Regions from separate parts of the Homo sapiens genome. Here regions 1 and 3 are each linked to region 2. The links are contacts of gene promoters, found by promoter capture Hi-C in blood cells and fetal thymus (Javierre and others, 2016). All regions are on one chromosome and are shown on one strand. The core of a region is centred on a gene start or on the middle of the fragment in contact, and the rest is flanking DNA. Distances in the headings are between cores, read along the strand shown.

What was found. Contacts are between HindIII fragments. The CHiCAGO score rates a contact against its expected background, and 5 or more counts as called.
Region 1: a fragment that was not itself captured here is called in contact with the fragment with the promoter of CTNNBIP1 in region 2 in 5 of 17 cell types (erythroblasts, fetal thymus, total CD8 T cells and 2 more); the score reaches 8.1 in erythroblasts.
Region 3: a contact is called between a fragment that was not itself captured here and the fragment with the promoter of CTNNBIP1 in region 2, in 4 of 17 cell types (total B cells, activated CD4 T cells, naive CD8 T cells and 1 more). The highest score is 5.8, in total B cells.

What each region holds. Positions count from the first base shown.
Region 1 is chr1:10,413,320-10,417,652 of GRCh38, forward strand. It overlaps PGD (phosphogluconate dehydrogenase), which reads left to right. Exons shown (of 13, transcript NM_002631.4): 9 at 3,668-3,798; 10 at 4,057-4,190. Among named protein-coding and RNA genes, the nearest start is that of CENPS, 15 kb to the right of the region's middle. The HindIII fragment of the contact is 991 bases long and covers 2,265-3,255 here.
Region 2 is chr1:9,908,329-9,912,446 of GRCh38, forward strand. CTNNBIP1 (catenin beta interacting protein 1) reads right to left here and starts at 1,941. Exons shown (of 6, transcript NM_020248.3): 1 at 1,767-1,941. RefSeq lists silencers at 1,489-1,548, 1,719-1,778, 1,789-2,388 and enhancers at 2,536-3,209, 3,210-3,882. The HindIII fragment of the contact is 9,783 bases long and covers 1-4,118 here.
Region 3 is chr1:9,587,915-9,591,855 of GRCh38, forward strand. TMEM201 (transmembrane protein 201) reads left to right here and starts at 997. Exons shown (of 11, transcript NM_001130924.3): 1 at 997-1,129. The coding sequence starts at 1,017. RefSeq lists silencers at 593-1,002, 1,013-1,212, 1,373-1,442. The HindIII fragment of the contact is 1,546 bases long and covers 1,821-3,366 here.

The DNA of each region.
Region 1 (4,333 bases), core at 1,510-4,009, 510 kb after region 2:
CAGACTGGTCTTTAGAGAATCTCTTCAGCCCTCTTTAGCTTTCAGAGTGCCTTTTGCTCTTTCTTGCGTTGAAGAAACTGACAGTGTGAGAGAGGCTGACGCTGCTTTTGATTCTCTTCCTTGTAGTTCTTATCTCATTCGTACAAACTGTGAGGTAAATTCAGAAGTGACTGTCCTTCCTATCCAGTTTTATCTTTGGAATATTTTAGCATTAGTGATGTAATTGTAGTCAGTGATCTAAGATTTTATTTATGAGGCAGGTAACTTGAGTAAAATTTTTCATAGAAAAGTTCATGAATAACAGGGCCGGGCACAGTGGTTCACGCCTGTAATGCCAGCACTTTGGGAGGCCGAGGCGGGTGGATCATGAGGTCAGGAGATTGAGACCATCCTGGCTAACATGATGAAACCCTGTTTCTACTAAAAATACAAAAAATTAGCCAGGTGTGGTGGCACGTGCCTGTAGTCCCAGCCACTCAGGAGGCTGAGGCAGGAGAATTGCTTGAACCTGGGAGGCAGAGTTTGCAGTGAGCTGAGATGGCACCACTGCACTCCAGCCTGGGTGACAGAGCGAGACTTCGTCTCAAAAAAAAAAAAAAATTAGCAGGTGCCTGTAATCCCAGCTACTCAGGAGGTTGAGCCATGAGAATCGCTTGAACCCAGGAGGCAGAGGTTGCAGTGAGCCAAGATCATGCCACTGCACTCCAGCCTGGGCAACAGAATGAGACTCCATCCCCTCCAAAAAAAGTTTGCGAATAACATATGCTTGTGTACTCAGAAATTATTAAAAATTTACTTTTTTCCCCTAGATATTAAAAAGATAAAAATTACCTATCCATTTGAGTCCTCGTTGTTTTGCTAAGTTCCTTCTCCTTCCTCTTTTAGAAGAAAGCCACTATCCTGAAGTTGGTGTGTATCCTGCCCACTTGTTTTATATCTTACATTAGTGAGCTAAGCATCAAACTCAGAAAGATAAGGAAATAATATAAAGAAATAAACATAAAACGAGAGGGGATTAACAATATCAAAATCTTGGCCGGGGGGGTGGTTTTCAGTGTGTTTGTTTGTTTTTTGAGACGGTGTTGTGCTCTGTCACCCAGGCTGGAGTTCAGTGGCATGATCTCGGGTCACTGCAACCTCCACCTCCCGGGTTCAAGTGATTCTCCTGCCTCAGCCTCCCGAGTAGCTGGGATTACAGGCATGCGCTACCATGCCTGGCTAATTTTTGTGTGTTATTAGTGGAGACGGGGTTTTACCATATTGGTCAGGCTGGTCTCGAACTCCTAACCTCAGGGGATCTGCCCGCCTCGGCTTCCAAAAGTGCTGGGATTGCAGGCGTGAGCCACCATGCCCAGCAAAGGTGGTTCTAAGAGTAAAATACATAGACTTCTGGCAGGAATGAAAAAGGAGAACGAAGGATGCCTCTCGTGGTTAATGAGAGGCTGATCTTTGCTTCTGGCAGATTGTTCTCACTATATTAAAACAGAATTGGGCCAGGCGCGGTGGCTCACGCCTGTAATCCCAGCACTTTGGGTGACCGAGGTGGGCGGATCACGAGGTCAGGAGTTTGAGTCCAGCCTGACCAACATGGCGAAACCCCATCTCTACTAAAAATACGAAAGTTAGCCAGGCATAGTGACCCGTGCCTGTAATCCCAGCTACTCAGGAGGCTGAGGCAGGAGAATCACTTGAACCTGGGAGGCGGAATTTGCAGTGGGCTGAGATCGCACCACTGCACTCCAGGCTGGGCGACCGAGCAAGACTCCGCCTAAAAAAAAAAAAAGAAGCATCTCAAAAATAATAAAACAGAATTTTTCCTGTTTGCTCCTCTGGATACAGGTTGCCTTTCTCTCCCTTGACTCTTCTCCCCTTTTGACCTCCCTGTTCATTGTGCCTCGCCCTATTGAACTGTGTGGTGTAAGGCAGAGTAAGGAGGAAAGTCGGTGGTTTCTACAGTTCCGTGCTGTATAGAAGGAAGTTGGCTGCTTTTAGCCGATCTGAGCCATAACATAGGTGAGGAGGGAGGGGCCAATAGCTAGGAGCAATTTATTCATCACGGACTCAAGTATATGTGTAAGTATTAGGATCTCAGAATCCTACTCTCCTCCTGTGGATCCATATACCTCTTCCCCCAGGGTGGCTGGGCCCACCCCCTGCTGGGAGCCATCATTATTTGTGAACTAACAGGGAAGTCTTCCAGCTGCCCTCTCCCCCTCTAACAGGAAGGGTTTGCCTCATAGCCTGTTGCACCAGTCATCTTACAAAGCTTCCTTCTAGAAATGCTAAGTCATCCTGTGTGTGCATTTGGGCCAGGAGAGAGGTAGCTGCTTTTGTGTGTTTGGAGTAGGGTTAGCAGTCTCAAGCCATAGCTGCTCCTCTTTCCTCAGAAATAAAGTCCTCTGTTAGTTCCCTGAGATTTTACTTCATTTTGTCTATGGGGGAAAAAGTGGTTAAAGAGTCATTTATTCTAACTATAAGTTGTCAGTTGAGCAAGTCTTTTATAAGGAATACTTTCTGAAAATACTAAATGTCTTAATATTAAAATACTACATTGACTTTTTAATTCAAATGAAGTAAAGTGGTTAAACTTGAATGATTACGGCTATACTGAAAACCGTAAAATATAAAAACCTAACATTTTTTTGAGAGGTGAGTCCGTAAATGTGACTTATCAATGTAAAATCTTCAAAAAAAAAAATTAAGGTCCTCTAAATTGAATTTGAAATTTTACTCATGGACCAACACTGAGTATTCTACATAACAGTGGTTTTTATTTTATTTTACTGGTTTTAGAGACAGGGTCTCACTGTGTTGCCCAGGCTGGAGAGCAGTGGTGTGATCATGGCTCACTGTAGCCTTGAACTCCTGGGCTCAAGTGATCCTCCCACCTCAGCCTGCCAAAGTGCTGGGATTACAGGTGTTAGCCACCTTGCCCAGCCATAACAGTGGTTTCTATCTCTTCATTTTCCCTCAAAACTCCCTTTTGAATTTCATGTTAATCTTTGTGATTGAATACTCATGTTTGTATTGGAAGATTGTCTTAAGAGTTTTAGTTATCAAATTAACTGTTTAGAGCTTCTTATAAAAGTTCCTTCCGATCCATGTCAACTTTTGTGGCCTAAGGTTGAAACTTTCAGCTCTTTGTATAAACAGACTTTCCTGCTCCACCTTTCTTCTGGTTGCTGTGCGAACTTTGGTAATTTTCATGCGCATCCGTGTGAAAAGACCACCAAACAGGCTTTGTGTGAGCAATAAAGCTTTTTAATCACCTGGGTGCAGGCAGGTTGAGTCCGAAGAGTCAGCGAAGGGAGATAGGGGTGGGGCCATTTTATAGGATTTGGGCAGGTAGTGGAAAATTACAGTCAAAGGGGGTTTTTCTCTTACGGGCAGGGCCGAGGGGTCACAAGGTGCTCAGTTGGGGAGGTTCTGAGCCAGGAGAAGGAATGTCACAAGGTTAATCGCTCAGTTAAGGTGGGGCAGGAACAAATCACAATGGTGGAATGTCATCAGTAAAGGCAGGAACCAGCCATTTTCACTTCTTTTGTGATTCTTCACTTGCTTCAGGCCATCTGGATGTATACATGCAGGTCACAGGGGATATGATAGTTTAGCTTGGGCTCAGAGGCCTGACAGTAATCTGTTTCCTCTTCCCGATCTCCCCATGTAGGAGAAGCTGTCTTTGCTCGGTGCTTATCATCTCTGAAGGATGAGAGAATTCAAGCTAGCAAAAAGCTGAAGGGTCCCCAGAAGTTCCAGTTTGATGGTGATAAGAAATCATTCCTGGAGGACATTCGGAAGGTGGGACACAGTCCCTGGCAGTGGTCTTTGTTGGTCCTGCGGAAGGCAGTGGGGGTGGGGGTTGTGGTGGGAGAACACTCGAGGCCACAGGATGGCAGGTGGAATGAAGTTCAGCCTTGACTTGGATCTTGACTTACAATGTTTTCCTAGAATATTGGCCCTTCTGGGATCTCCACTGCTGATGAGAATAAGACTGGTAGACATAAGGCGGTCACTCTCCTAATGGCAATCCTAGTAGGTCTCTGTGTCACTCTTTAGGCACTCTACGCTTCCAAGATCATCTCTTACGCTCAAGGCTTTATGCTGCTAAGGCAGGCAGCCACCGAGTTTGGCTGGACTCTCAATTATGGTGGCATCGCCCTGATGTGGAGAGGGGGCTGCATCATTAGAAGGTAAGTGAGAGGCAGCCCAGGGTCCGACGGGAAGGACTCACACGGCTGTGCAGAAGTGCGATCTTAGGACACTTAGCTTGAGCAGTTTCCAGGGATGGGCACTTAGCCCCATCACTGGACACTGGCACAAGATAGGCTTAGAT
Region 2 (4,118 bases), core at 691-3,190:
TTACAGGCATGAACCACTGAGTCCGCCCTGATCCACAGATTCTTTTTTTTTTTTTTTTTTTTTGAGACGGAGTCTCGCTCTGTCGCCCAGACTGGAGTGCAGTGGCGTGACCTCGGCTCACTGCAAGTTCCACCTCCCGGGTTCACGCCATTCTCCTGCCTCAGCCTCTCCGAGTAGCTGGGACTACAGGTGCCCACCACCACGCCCAGCTAATTTTTTGTATTTGTAGTAGATATGGGGTTTCACCGTGGTCTCGATCTCCTAACCTCGTGATCCGCCCGCCTCGGCCTCCCAAAGTGCTGGGACTACAAGCGTGAGCCACCGCGCCCGGCCACAGATTCTTATATGTAATCTGGCCCCTCTCCATCTTCATAGCACTTACCACTACTGAAATTATTTTGTCCACTTGTTTGTTTACTCACTTATTGTCTGACTTTCCTCCTCTTTAAAATGTCATCTCTGAGGAGGGCAGAAACCGTGTCTGTCTTCACCACTAAAGCCCCAGTACTTGGAACGGTGCCTGGCACATAGTAAATGCTCACTACTGAATGAATGAATCTCCATCCCATAGAGGTGATTTGTATTTACAAGGGAGGACCACGAACTCCCCCAGCAAACCGTGAATGACACATTGGCATTTAACAGCCCGCACCTTTATTTATGATCCAAAGTCCTACTTTAAATCTGAGGAAGCTGCTGGTATCTCTGGACATTTTAATGGCACAAGAGATCAGTTATCACTTGGGGACACACTCCAGGAACTGGAGCCCAGTGGTTGTAGCAGGGAGCTAAGAGCCAAGGCTCCTGCGAACAGAACTTCAAGACAAACCATGACTTGCCTCCAGGTCCCTTACCCACACACCCTGTACCTCAATTTACCCAGCAGTTGGCCAGACATGTTCCTCTCAGTTCTGTGAGTGACAGGAGACAAAATAATTCACAGCTGGAGCATACTGAGATCCTCAGACAGGAGGTGGTGCAAGCCACACGTCTCATTATTCATAAAACTCTTGATTTGCGGCCAACACGGCCCCCGCCGCCTTCCCAGGGGCTAACCTGACAACAGGCACTGCTCAGACAAGTTCAGCTCACAAGGCAGAGGGAGGGATGGAGGGCCTAGCAGAGGCTGGGTGTCCAGACCTGAGTGTCTCGGTTACCAGGTTCCAAAAAAAGGAAGGTGGTTGGGGTGGGGTGATGAAAAGGAGGTGAGAGGTGCAGTTTGGGGCTCCAGGTGGTTAATTTTGCAGGTTCGTGCATACACGCCCGCCATCCAGGTGAGATATGTGCCCCCACCAGGTACCTTCCAGGAAGGCTCACCGGGGAGGGGTGGAATCGGGAGACGACAGTTCAATCAAACTACAGAGGGAGGAAGGGCGGCCCAGCGTTTAGTTTGGGGAAATATGGAGAGTAAGAGTCTCAGAGTGGGCGCAGGTGAGGGAAGAGGCAGGGGCCCAGAGGTCGGGAGGGCGGACGGGCGATGACAGGCACCCGGACGCGGTGAGGTGAGCAACAAGGTGGGCGGCGCGGACACCTGTGGAGGCGACCCCCGGGCGAAGAGTCAGGGAGGCGGGAGGTGGTCTGCGGCGAGAGGCGGCCAGGCCCAGACCAGGGCGCCGCGCCGCTGGGGCAGTCAGGGGTCCGAGCGGGGTCGGGGGCGCTCTCCGCGGCCCCTCCCCGGCAGACAAAGGGCTGGCCGCTCCCCCAAGCCCCGGCGCGGCGCGGCGCGGGCCCGGGCGGTGCAGGCGCGGCCCGGCCTCGGCGCTTACCTGGGCCGCCCGACCCGGCCGGGCCGGCAGGGGCAGCGGGTCCGGCGCGCAGCGCGCGGCGGCCTGTTCCGGGGCGTGCTCAGCCCGAGCAGCCGCTGCGGCGGCGGCAGTAGCAGCAGCAGGAGCGGCCGCCTCAGCCTCCGCCTCCCGCTCCGAGAGTCACCGCGGTGGGGAGGGAGGGAGGCGCCAGGCCGCCGGGGGAGGGACCGGCGGAGGGGGCGGCATCTGGCTCCGCGCGGGCTGCTGAGGCGCGGCGGCGGCAACGCCCCGGAGGGAGGCGGGCGCGTGGGGCCGGGCGCCGGGGCGGGGCCTGCGGGCGGGGCGGGGCCCGGGGCCGCGAATTGGTTAACTCAGCCTGTGGGCGGGGCTGCGCGGTGCGGGGCGGGGCCTTGTGGCGCATGTGAACGCTCATTGGGCCCTCCTGGAAGGGGGCGAGACCAGCGACATAGGGACGGGGCCATGCGGTGGGCGGGTGGAACACGGCGCCGGTAGTGAGTGGCCGAGTCCGCGCTGAGAGCAAAGGGGAGGAGCGGGCCGGGGGTGAGCAGGGAAGGCGGGTTGGGCGCGAGGAGGAGGCGGTGGCCTGGAGGAGGAGCCGGGTAAGGCTGAAGCTGGCGCTGCGGTAAAGCCACTCTGCGTGTCCCTATCTGCTCCAGGAGCACAGTGTTCCGGAAAAATAATGGCCTCTCCCACACACCGGTCTGTGTTTAAAAACGGGAGCAACAAGACGGGGCAGAATCCTTGGTGAGGCCAGTTTACCCAGAACCCCGGAAAATTCTGAAATGGACGAGGTTGCAGAACATTTAGAGGCGTGGTCTTCCTGCGTCGTTGAGCTGGGAACGTTGCTACCTCTGAGCTTGGGGCCTAACCTGGGATTAACCTAGCCCAGAGAGCCCAGGGATGGGCCTCCGTAGGTCCATTAAACTCAGAAGGTCGTGTGTACTGGTAGTGAGTGGATTTTTCGGGGGAAGGGTGCCCATGATTAAAATGTTTCTACAGAAAGTCTGGCTGTATTTGGAGAGGGTACAGGGAGAAGCAGCCCATTTTAGGTAAAATGCAAATTGCTTTTAACATCCGCCTTCCTTTTAAAGGGACCTGTATCTTTAAGTGTGGTCTCATTTTCAGCAGTTTAAATTATCAGTTACACAGTGTGACACTAACCCCAGTTCAGAAGCCCTCCTACCCTACTCCTCCCACAGCCTTTCTTTTTACACCTTTTCTGTACCATCCTCTTCCACTCCACATTTCTTCCCCTTCCCTATGCAAAAAGAATACGAAGTCCTTTTTTGTTTGTTCGTTTATAATATAATATCCACATTACTCTTTACTCATTTGGGGGGTTTTTTTGTTTTTGAGAGGGAGTCTCGCTCTGTCGCCCAGGCTCAGGTGCAGTGGCGCGATCTTGGCTCACCGCAACCTCCGCTTCCCGGGTTCAAGCGATTCTCCTGCCTCAGCCTCCTGAGTAGATGGGATTACCGGCATGCGCCCCGGCTAATTTTTGTATTTTTAGTAGAGACGGGTTTTCTCTATGTTGGCCAGGCTGGTCTCCAACTTCTGACCCCAAGTGGTCTGCCCGCCTCGGCCTCCCAAAATGCTAGGATTACAGGCCTGAGACACCGCACCCGGCCTGCTCACACTTTTTCATACTTAATAGGTCCCCGGCCGGGCGCAGTGGCTCATGCCTGTAATCTCAGCACTTTGGGAGGCCAAGGCAGACAGATCACCTGAGGTCGGGAGTTGGAGACCAGCCTGACCAACATGAAGAAACCCCGTCTCTACTAAAAATACAAAAATTAGCCGGGCGTGGTGGCGCATGCCTGTAATCCCAGCTACTCAGGAGACTGAGGCAGGAAAATCGCTTGAACCCGGGAGGCGAGGGTGCAGTGAGCCGAGATTGCGCCATTGCACTCCAGCCTGGGCAACAAGAGCGAAACTCTGTCTGAAAAAAAAAAAAAAAAAAAAATTGGTCCCCAAGTGGGTTTCTCCTACAGTGTCCCCACCTTCAGTAACTGGCACCACTCTCTACCCAGTTGCTTACACCAGACACTTAAATTGTACCGTTGACACCACTCTTTCCTTTATTCTTCATTTCCAGTCCATGTTGTTTCCAATTCTAAATGGTGTCCTTAATCTCTCCACCTCCTACCATCTCTACCCCTCTTTCCCAGTTTAACCTGCCACCAGCTATCACCTTGACTCCTGCAATAACCCTTCAAGCAGTCTCTCCTTTAGGCTCTCCTTACGCCCCCATTCACTGCCCACACAGCAACTAAAGGAAACTTCTTAAAATCTTGTCAGACCTGCGCTATTCAACGACTTCTCTTCATTTTCACGAGGAAGTTCAAAGTCCTT
Region 3 (3,941 bases), core at 1,344-3,843, 320 kb before region 2:
CTTCCTTCCTTCTTTCTCTCTCTCTCTCTTTCCTTGCCTTTCCTTTCTTTTTTGAGAAGGAGTCTCGCTTTTGTCGCCCAGGCTGGAGTGCAGTGGCGCGATCTCGGCTCACTGCAAGCTTCGCCTCCCGGGTTCACGCCATTCTCCTGCCTCAGCCTCCCGAGTAGCTGGGACTACAGGCGCCCGCCACCACGCCCGGCTAATTTTTTGTATTTTTAGTAGAGAGGGGGTTTCACCGTGTTAGCCAGGATGGTCTCGATCTCCTGACCTCGTGATCCGCCCGCCTCGGCCTCTCAAAGTGCTGGGATTACAGGCGTGAGCCACCGCGCCCTGCCTGGATCTGGCATTCTTTCTAATGGTTGCATTATGTTCCGAACTATGGCTGTCCTATGATTTATTCAACCATGTCCCTATCCGTGGATGATCGTGTTTCTAAAAAGCTAGTTTTTCAACCATTAGAGCGGCTCAAGGAGCTGCTAAACAGCACTGGGCGCATAGGCTGGGTTTGACTAGACAGGATTAGCGAGGGGGAAAAAGACTAATTACAAGCAGTTGCGTACTCTGGAGATGCTCCCCTTAGCAGAAGCTCGGTGGACTGTCTGCAGCCAGACCTCCGGGCCTGGCGGCTGGCGCGGGAGGCAGAAGGCGGGGCTTTCCTACAGGGCTCCGTGCCCCGCCCTCCCCGCGCCGCCTTCCACCTCCGGCCGCGCGGGGGCGCTCCCCGGCCGGCTCTGTCGCTTCCGCCGCCGCCCCGCCCACCCGGGCTCACCCCTCGTCCCGATTGGCTGCGCGACGGGAGCGCGCCGAGTCAGGGGGCGGGCCCGCGCCCGCTACAAAGCGGCGAAGGTCACGGCGCGAGGAGGCGCGCGTCGCCGCCCCGCGTCCCGCCTGCGGCCCGCGCCCCCGGCGTCACCGCCTCCTGCCCGCCTGCCCGCCTGCCCGCCTGCCCGCCTACCCGCCTACCCGCCTACCCGCCTACCCCCCTGCCGGCCTGCCGTCCTTCCACGCGGAGAGCCATGGAGGGAGTGAGCGCGCTGCTGGCCCGCTGCCCCACGGCCGGCCTGGCCGGCGGCCTGGGGGTCACGGCGTGCGCCGCGGCCGGCGTGTTGCTCTACCGGATCGCGCGGAGGTGAGTGCATGGTTCGGCCCCACGCGGCCCTCTGCGCCGCCCGCCAGGCCCGCCCCCGCGCCGCCCCGGCCCGCTGCCCCCCTCGGCCGGGACCCGGGCTGCCCGCGGGCGCGCGGAGACCCCCGGCGCGCGCCGCCGCCCCCCGAGACCGGGTTGAGACTGCAGTCGGGAAGCGGCTGCGGAGTCGAGTGGAGCGGCGGGGACTCCGGGAACGTGGGGCGCGGGCGAGAGCGCCGCGCGGGGGCCACAAACTTCCTCCGGGAGCCGCGGGGGGCTGGAGCCGGTGCGCACGGGCCGCCCCTGCCCTCAGCCCCGTGCTGGGCCCCGGTGCACGGCGATGCTGGCGATCGCGGCTGGCGGTTGCTGCTCGGCATGTGACGTCCCGGGCGTTTTTCTACACGCCTCGCATCCGCGCGTTTCAGAGCCACAGCCCCTGCTTACGCTAGAGCAGCTGAGGGACAGGGAGGCTCAGTAACTTGCTGTTAATGAGAGGAATCATGGTTTGAGCCGATGGAATCTGCAGGGCAGACCCCGAGGCTGGGCTGCCTCCCAGAGGTGGGCAAGGCCTGAGATGCCTCCAAACAGTTCAAGACGGGCCGGGGCCACCCTCCTCCCTGCCCGGCTCACGGGCCATGCGGGCCCCCGGGTTCAGATCCGGCCTCTTTCATCGGCCTCCATCGCCAGGCATAAAAGCTTAGTGGCCTGTTGCTTCAGCAGAGCCTCGCAGGTAGCTTACTGTTTCTCCACTTGATCCACCTTTCCAGAGGGCAGGGGGGAAAGTGGGGTTGTGAGAACATCCTAGAAAGAGTGGATGGGTTTGCAGCTTCGGCAAGGGATGCAATGAGCTCACACCCTTAGGAAAAAGGGGAGAAGGGACTTGCCCACTCAGCAGCAAGTGGCAGAGCTGGGGTTTGAACCCTGATCGTCTGGCTGGTCTGTTTGTTCTTCCTTAACACATACCGGTGCTGCTTCTCTCCTCCAGGGGGGAAACGGGGAAAAAGAAGTACAGGTGGTTGAGTCACAGAGGCTTCCCAGAGGAGGAAGGCATGGGAGGGACATCAGCTGTGTCTGGAGGATGGGCCAGATGTGACTGAGGAGGGTAGCTGGGGATTGAGTGACCCCAGCCCAGAGGTCCCTGACAACCCAAGTCTCTCCATGTCGGTTTCTGCTGGATTCCTGGAAGTTGAGCATCTGCAGGACCAGCTTGTCCAAGCCGGTGGTTTTATACCCAGGGGACCGAGGTCCAGAGACCTCAGGTGATTTGCTCACATTCCCAGAGCATGTTGCCAGCTGAGCTGGTCCAGCACCCGGTGTTCTTCCTGGACGAAGCCGCCTCTCAGCTAACCCAGGATGGGGGGTGTTGCCTCAAGGATGAGAGCCTGGGGGAGGGGATAGTCTGCCAGCCACACAGCACCTCCGTTGTGTTTATTGAGGCTGGACTTGGACTGGGTGGCTCACTGTGCCACACACTGCAGCTGTCCTCAGGGATGCTGTCTCCCCTTCCTGCCCTGCTGGCCACAGCTCTCCATCTCCTGGAAACAAGAGTCTGGGGCCTTGGAGAGATATTGGGCTAGCTGGTGCCAGGGGAACTAGGAGGGTGCCTGGAAGTCCTTTCACGCCCCTGACGACACCAGCAGGTCACGGTGTGGCATTGAGACCCTTGCTGTTGATTGGGCCGAGAAGGGCCAGCCTTTCCCAGGATGCTTTAAGATGTCCTCATAGAGCACTGGGTTTCACCTGGAGGTCATAAATTGGCCACTGTCACGATTCAGAAGCCAGACCAACCTAGCAAGAGGTTGAGCCTTCCTCCGAGGAGGAGAGTGCTGTGACAGTGAGGAACCAAGCATTGACTCTGGCTGCAGTGTAGGTTTTGAATGACCCTCGGGAGGGCATGTAAGGAGAGCTGTTTTTGGAAGGCGACTTGGCTGGGTGGGTGTTTGCAGGCTCAGCACAGAGATGGACAGAGAGGAAGATGTAGAGGGAGTGGGCAGGTCAGCCCCACCTTGTGCTTTAGGACTGGCTGAGGCGCATGGGAAGGAGGCTGCTTCTCTGAAGGACTGAGTCCTCCCACAGCCTCAGTCAGGGCCCGCCCTGGCTTCCCCACGCATGGAGTCCTCTCGCTTCCATGGTTGTTACTGATGGGAGCAGCTGATGGCTGTAAGCACAGCACACTGTCTCCTCATGAAACTGCCAGGGCGGGCTCTACTGTTCTCCCATTTTACAGATGAGGAAACCAAAGCTTGGGGAGGTTGGGCTACCTGCCCCACATCACCCGGCTGTTAAATGGCAGGGCCCTGCCTCGCACCAGAACTTCAGCTTGTCAGCCCAGCTTCAACCTCTGGGTGCTCATGGAGCCCCTTGGCTGCTTCTCTGCACCTATGGGAAGCCACCACGGTCGGCACAGTTGGGGGGCAGATGCCCCAGTTTCACTTCCCTGTGTCCAGGCCGTCGTGAAGTCTGTGGCTTCCTAGGCCTCCCTGTCCCCTGGACGCTGCTGCTCGGGTGCCTGTCCTCAGCCCTCTTCAAACGATGCCCAGGATCCGTGCTCTGCCAGCACATCCCTGCACACACCACCGCCCCGCCTCCGGGGCTTTGTTGGTGTTTACTGGGATTGTCTCCTTTCTAGTGTTTGGGGACAAAGAGGATGCAGCCTCCCAGAGGATATGCAGCAGAGCCTCATTCTGGAAGTCAGAGTCCCCTGTAACGGCCCTTCCCGTTTCCAGGCTCCCCCCTCCCACTCACTCTCCTGCTGCTGCGCACTCTCCCTGAGCAACCGCCGCACCCCGGGCATACGTTGGGTGGTCCCCTCCCT